Linked DNA regions of Homo sapiens: region 1 is linked to region 2. Evidence: promoter capture Hi-C in 16 types of primary human blood cells and fetal thymus (Javierre and others, 2016). All regions are on one chromosome and are shown on one strand. The core of a region is centred on a gene start or on the middle of the fragment in contact, and the rest is flanking DNA. Distances in the headings are between cores, read along the strand shown.

Region 1 (3,441 bases), core at 877-3,376, 230 kb after region 2:
GAAGAAACTAGTGAGTCAAGCAAATAAGAGATTTCTGTTTATGGCAATATGTCAGACTAAATAACATGAAAACTAATGTCCACAAAGCATTAGACATGCTGAGTAAAACAATTCAGCATGAGTTTTAATCACAAAACAGAATTTTCAATTAGTTTGCTCAAGTGTCAAAATCAAAGCCTGAACTGCATGTTAGAACAGTGAATAGATATATATTGCAGCTCTCCCCTGAGGGATAGCTGAACAAAGGGCCTGGATTTTAGTGGCCACAAGAAGGCAAAGGATAAGGTGCTGGGCCTGTGTGAAGTGGGTGTTAGTACTAAGATTCCTCAGCATAAAGTTAGTGACTTTTAAAAGTTTCACCCTTGGCAAAAAGATACAATAGAAATCTACCCACTGGGACAGGAAGACCACAAGGAAACCTAACTATCTCTCCTGGGCTCTGGGTGGGGGAAAAAAAAAAAAGTTGCTTCCCTAAGAATTTGTATCCATTCATCTTCTGTCACAAGAGTTTGAGGTTCTAGTATATGTTAGCCAAGTAGTCCAAGAAACCCAAAGTGAGAATTTAACATTAAAAAAAAATTATTCTAAGCAAATGATACCTTCTAAGGCACCTGGCAGAAACAAATGAATGGACATACCCTTAACCTGAACCATTCCCAAGTCCCCAAATAAAGGCTTTCTGAAAATGAGTTCACAATCCAAAATCACAAAACACAAAAAGAAAAATCCACCATGAGTGAAAGTCAGCAGTCACAACAAACAGGAAAACCCCTCGAGAACTTCAATAATAGAACACTCAGATTAAGACTATAAAATAAATTTTTGAATTAATTGGGGACATAAAGGAAGGATGTAAAACATGAGAAAAGATCAAGAAACTATCAACAAAAACCAGGCATATGTGAAAAAGAGTCTCTATAAAATAAAAATAAAATAATTGAAAATAAAATCTCAGTGGATTGACTATTAGCAGATAAGCACACTGAAAGAACTGGTGAACAAGAAGATTAAGATTAACACTTTGGGAGGCCAAGGCCAGCAGATCACTTGAGGTCAGGAGTTCGAGACCAGCCTGGCCAACAGGATGAAACCCCGTCTCTACTAAAAATACAAAAATTAGCTGGGCGTTGTGGTGGATGCCTGTAATCCCAGCTACTCAGGAGGCTGAGGCAGGAGAATCGCTTGAACCTGGGAAGCGGAGGTTGCAGTGCGCCAAGATTGCACCACTGCATTCCAGCCTGGGTGACACAGTGAGACTCCATCTCAAAAAATAAATAAATGAATAAATAAATAAATAGAGATAAAGCTAAGAAAATGTAACAAAGAGTTAAAGAGAAGAAAAACATCAACTAGGTCAGTAAATAGGAAAAAAGAATAAGAAAACCCAACGTACTTCTAATAAGAGTTCCAGGAGGAGTGAATAAAGACACTAAAGAAGAGACTATTCGAAGACACAGGAACCCTCAGATTCAGGAAATGGAGTGTGTTCTGAACATAGTAAGCAAAACTAAATTAATACCCAAATGCGTTGTGCTGAAACTCTGAAACATCAAAGGCAAAGAGAAGATCTAACTATCAAACAGAAGAAAAGGCAGGTCACCTAAAAAGGAGCAGAAACAATTAGACGTACAGCAGACTTCTCAGTCACATCACTGGAAGCTGGGGACACAAAGGACCAACATCTTCAAAGTGCTAATAGAAATAACATTTCAAGTTAATCATTTACAAATAAGGCCAAATTAAAAACATTTTTAGACAAGCAAAGGAGAGTGTTAACCATTGAAAAATCTATTGGTTAAAGAACTATGAAAGGATATACTTCAAAAAGGAAGAGACAGAACCCAGAAGTAAGGAATTGGAGATATGTAGAAATAGAAAACAAAAGAACTGGTAAACATGTTGGTAAATCTTAACAAATTGACTCTATAACATAATAGTGGTGATGGCTGATTTTGGAAACAGCAGGGTAGCTGCAGTTAAAGCATTCCAAATCCTTACACTGTTTGTAAGAAGGAGAAAGATATTGATCAACTTTAGACTTTAGATTTGATGTCAACTATGCATGGTGAATTTTTAAGGGAATCTATGAAAGAGAAAAACAAAGAATTAAGATAATGTATTTAAGGGAATCAGAGACAGAGAGAGAATATTATACTGAGTGGTGGTAACTGTTGAGTAAAAGAAAAACTGTAAAAAGGGAATAGGTAGTAATGGTTAGTGGGAAGACTGGTAAACAGGAAAACAGAACATAAAGAAAACTCAGTCTGATAGAATTTTTTTGAGCATTACAAAAAATCAGGGAAAATAAGAAGGTAGAAATAAACCTAAAATTATCAATAAACAAACTAAACACAAAGATAAGATTTTTTTTTAATTACAAGAGATATTCCTAAAGTACAAAGACACCAAAAGTTTAAAAGTAAAAATATAGGAAAACTACTTTTCAAAATCCAGCTGATTGAGCTATGTTAATACTAGGCAAATTTGTAAGTAAAAATATTATTACGAGAGTTCTTACATAATACGAAAGGAGCAATTCAAGCAGGAAGAAATAAAAATTATAATCTTATACTCACCTTATCATGATCTAAAATGTTCTTAAAGCGAAAAATGTCAGAGAGAAGGAGAAATAAGACAAATCTCCAAACTTTTTTCAGTGATTAAGCAGACAGAAAATTAGGAAAAGTACAGATGTGGACAATACAATTAACAAGGTTGATCTAACGAACAAACAGAGAACACTGAACCCAGAGCATTTAGAGAGTATGTATGTTTTTCAAACAGCAGGCGTCAGGTATAAAAACTGACCACTTAGTTGGTCACAAATCAAGTTCAACAAATTCCAAAGAATCTGTATAATACAGACAACAATGCAGAAAAGTGACCAATCAGTAAGTAAAAGATAACTTAAATACATATATATTTGGAAAATTTAAAATACACTTTTAATTATCCTAAAATATTATAAAATATCTCCTAATTATGATTAGGAGAAATAGTGAATATTTATTAAGACTTACTGTCAAAGGAGAAATAATTCTGAAAATATACAACATTTAGGACTAAATGAAAATTCCCCATATCAAAACCTGTGGAAAGGAACTAAATAATTTTTTTTTTTATGAGACGGGGTCTCACACTGTCACCTAGGCTGAAGTGCAGTGGCACAATCACAGCTCACCACAGCCTCGAATTCATGGGCTCAAGCAATTCTCCCACCTCAGCCTCCTGAGTAGTGGGGACTAAACGTGCACGCCCCCACGCCTGGCTAATATTTGTATTCTTTGTAGAGATAAGGTTTTGCCATGTTATCTAGGCTGGTCTCAAACTCCTGAGCTCAAGCAATCCACCCCCACTTGGCCTCCCAACGCGCTGGGATTATAGGCATGATCCACTGCACCCAACCCTAAATAAATTATTTAAAAGACATTTTATAACTGA
Region 2 (3,555 bases), core at 1,000-3,499:
GCCAGAGCTGTCAGCCCGAGGCTACGGGGGTCTTCATCCCAGGCAGATGAAGCCCGCCATCGCGCTGCTGCGAAGCTGGACTTCACTGGTCCTTCAAGACCAGCATGGGCTACCCAGGCTGGGCTGCCCGCGCTGTGCATCATTAGAAACCAAGAAATCTGCACTTTGGTATTGCTTATGTACTACCTTCTGCGGACCCCTCGCTTTCCTCTTATTAGATACCCAATCCTGGACATCCCAGGCTCTGTTAAAATAAGGCAAAAATTTCCCAGAGAAATTTTGTCAAACACCGGTCATGAAGAGAAATACAAAACGGCAGGGAGTTGCGGGGTGAGTTCCTATCAAATCAGTTCCCCAAGGCTGCTTGTACAGACACCCGTCATCCTCCGCCTGGAGCGTGCACCCTACCCAACGCCAGGTTCTGATCTGAACCATGGAGCCAGAGAAGAGGAAAGGATTTTCCAAATCTGGCTCTAGTAGGGACCGCGGGAGGGAGGGAAGTCGGGGAGATGGTGGGAACCTGTCCCCCGCCTTTTCTTTGCTTGGCTGCACAGCGCTGGGTGCCGGCGAGGTAGGGGGAGCCCCTCCGGGCACGCGCTGCGGGCCGCTGCAGCTGCCAGGCAGGCGCGATGCTCAGTCGGGCGCCCAGTTCGGAATGCCGGAGTAGGCCAGACCGGGCTCAACGACGCCACCTCTCGGTACATCCTTGTCCAGGAGAACCCGGTGGCGGGGAAAAGCGGGTGGAGAGGTGTGCAGGAAGCTCAGGCACCCAACTCCGCTCAGGGAGCCGTTTGTGGCGCAGGACGCAATGGTGAAGTCGAGAGTTTTCTGCTGAGCGACTTCCGTGTGCCTGTGCGTGCGTGAGGGCGAGCGGTGTGGCATGAGCGCTGGATGGGTGTGGAATTTCGCTTCACGCTTTAAACTTTTTTTTACGGCCTCTGCTACGGCTTTCCAGGGCCGCTCCCTGGACTTTGAAGGAGGAACCGGGGTTACCTGAAGGCCAAGGCTGGGGGCCGACTTGGCCGAGCCTCCCTCTTGGGCTGGAGGACTGCGCGCCTGGAGCGGATAGCAGCGACCCCGAGGCGAGCAGGAGGCTGGGAGTCCGAATGGCCTTCCGGGTTCCCTTTCGCGTGACGGGAGGGGGGGTGGGGGTGGGGTGGGGGTAGGGGGAGCCCGGCAGCCGCAGGAATCGGTCTGTTCAGCGGCTCCCGCCCCAAGTCAGCCCTTTTTCTCATCCAAGAATTCAAGCACCCCGCAAACAGGAAAACTGACCCTCCAAGCCAAGTATTGGAGAAAGTGAGCACAGATCCCTCCCCCACTCATCTTTAAGAAGCCCCTTCCTCCACTCCCCTCCCGGCGGCCGAAGCCTAGGGTCTCCAGTAAACAAACACACACAGCGTCTAACAACAAACTCCGTTAACCTGTTGGGGGCGTGGGGGGAATCGGACAAACCTGTTATCTCGAAAAGTCGAGGCGTCCCCCGCCTCGACCCCCGAGCAACTATCTGTCCCTCGCTCCCACCCACCCCCCCATTCCCCTTCGGTGTCAGGAAACAGGCGGACCCGCCGCCGGGTGGGTACTCACGCTGCTGTTGTGTCCCGACCAGTGCACCATGGCTTGGTTGTGGGCCGAGTCCCCGGTCAGCGCGAAGGAGGTGCTGGGCAGCCGGAGGTCTTCAGCCGCCGACCCCCCAGCCCGCGGCGCCTTCACCTCCTCCCGGGAACCCTTAGCAAGGGGACGGCTTCCTCTGGAACCATCGGCCGGAGCAGTGGCCCAGGCGTCCCCGCGTTCCTGGGTGATTGGGGGCTGCGCCCGGCGACTCCTCCTCGCGCCGCCAAGCTTGGCAGGAGCTGGGATGCCCCGGCCCCGCCGCTCGCCTGCCGGTGATGTCCCTCCGGCTTCCACCTGCATCTCACCGCCTCTGCCGCCGCCCTGCTGGGGCAGCAGCTCTGGTCCGGCCCGGCGCCCCAGCACGGCGGCTCTCCGCGCCGACGCCAGCTCCTCCGGCCACTGGCTGGCCACTGCCCGCGGCGAGAGTGGAGACAACGCCGGTGGCCGCGAAGCCGGGGCCGCCGGGCGTCCGGGACCGCCTGTCGCGTCCCAAGTGATCTCGGCGCCGGCCAGGACCCACGTCGACAAGAGTAGGAGCCCCGTCCGGACAAGCGGCGCCCCCGGCCTGCCTGCGGGGCGCTCCGTGCGCGCCGCCTCCATCCCGCTGCGGCTACCGCGGCTCGGGCTGCCGAGTGTGTGGCGCCCGCCGAGGTGCGGGTCCGGCGCGGGGGGTGTGCGCGCGCCGGCGAGCGAGCGAGCGTGTGTGTGTAGGGGGAGTGGGGAGGGGGCGGCCGGGAAGGAGGTGGCTCCGGCTGGCGCGCCTCGCCGGTCCTCTCCACTCTTCCCTCCTAGCTCCCGCTCGCCCGTTCTCTTGTCCAGAGGGTGATTCCAAACCCGAGGAAAATTAATAATTGCCCCTTCGGTGCTTTCTTTCTTAAAATCAGATTCCCCCCAATCCTCCCCACTGAGCTCCTCCAGAAATTTGGTAAAAAGGAGTAATCAAAGGTAATAAGAAAATCTTCTTAAAATATGAAAATCAAGCCGGATCCAGGAGGGGCCGGCAATAGACCCCAATCCCGAGTCTCTCCGAAATCCAGCCTCCAACGTGCTCCCGGCGAAGAGTTGGGAGCCGCTTCTGGACGCGTTTGGGGGTTTACTCTTCGGGCCTGTTATGAGGGGCGGGAGATGGCGCGCGGGGAGGGTACAGGGGTCTCGGGGGAGAAGGAGGAGGAGTTGTGTGCTCAACGCCAACTGTTCGCGTTCTAGAGCCGAGAGGGAGCCAGGTGCCTCCGCGCGGGGAGGCTGCGCACGGAAGCCAAGCGCGGGATGCACCCTGGACTCTGCTCGCCGCTCCCTGGCCCGGCCGGCTCCCGGCCAAACCCCGCCACCCAAGGCCTGCGCCCCCGCGCGGGGGCGTGGGGAATGCGTGCGTGCGCGTGCGTGCGCGCAGGCAGGCGGGCGTGAGGCGAGGGGTTCGCAGGGGGCCGGCGGGCAGACCGGGCGCTGCCGCGTGGGGGCACCTGGCTGAGCCGGGCCGGGAGCGCGGCTGGGTGTGAGGGGGCGCGCGGTTCCGTGCGTGCGCGTTTGCACGAGCATGTGTGCACGTTAGTGTGAGCGATGGCAAGTGGGGCGGGGGCGGGAGGTGTGCGCTCGGCTTTTGGTCGCGTGCGGATCACGCACGGGCTGTGTTTGCATTTCCAGGAGCCTGCGAGTGGTCAAAGAGGCAATGCTGAGAACTAGGCAGGCCGCTCTCGGCAGCCCCCTCCTCTTGGCGCCCCGAGCACCCACGGCCCCCACTACAAGCGGTTAGAACCTGATAAAGCCTCCTAGGGGATGAGGGAAAAGAGGCGGAAGGCCCCGGTGGGATCGGGGACTTGCCAGATCTTCTCGGTTGAGGGATTCTCCTTGCCCCGACCTCCCGGCCAGAGGTGGGGCGAGAGAGTAGTCGAGATGTCTGTTCTTCCAGGGAGGATCCAGACCTCATTTTGCTGCCTAGGATTTTGA

The links. Contacts are between HindIII fragments. The CHiCAGO score rates a contact against its expected background, and 5 or more counts as called.
Region 1: a contact is called between a fragment that was not itself captured here and the fragment with the promoter of SORCS3 in region 2, in 2 of 17 cell types (M2 macrophages and M1 macrophages). The highest score is 6.6, in M2 macrophages.

What each region holds. Positions count from the first base shown.
Region 1 is chr10:104,408,782-104,412,222 of GRCh38, reverse strand. The region is part of intron 15 of CFAP58 (cilia and flagella associated protein 58); the gene reads right to left. Among named protein-coding and RNA genes, the nearest start is that of CFAP58, 57 kb to the right of the region's middle. The HindIII fragment of the contact is 5,900 bases long and covers 1-3,441 here.
Region 2 is chr10:104,639,984-104,643,538 of GRCh38, reverse strand. It overlaps SORCS3 (sortilin related VPS10 domain containing receptor 3), which reads right to left and starts at 2,249. Exons shown (of 27, transcript NM_014978.3): 1 at 1,585-2,249. The coding sequence starts at 2,211. The HindIII fragment of the contact is 3,039 bases long and covers 1,842-3,555 here.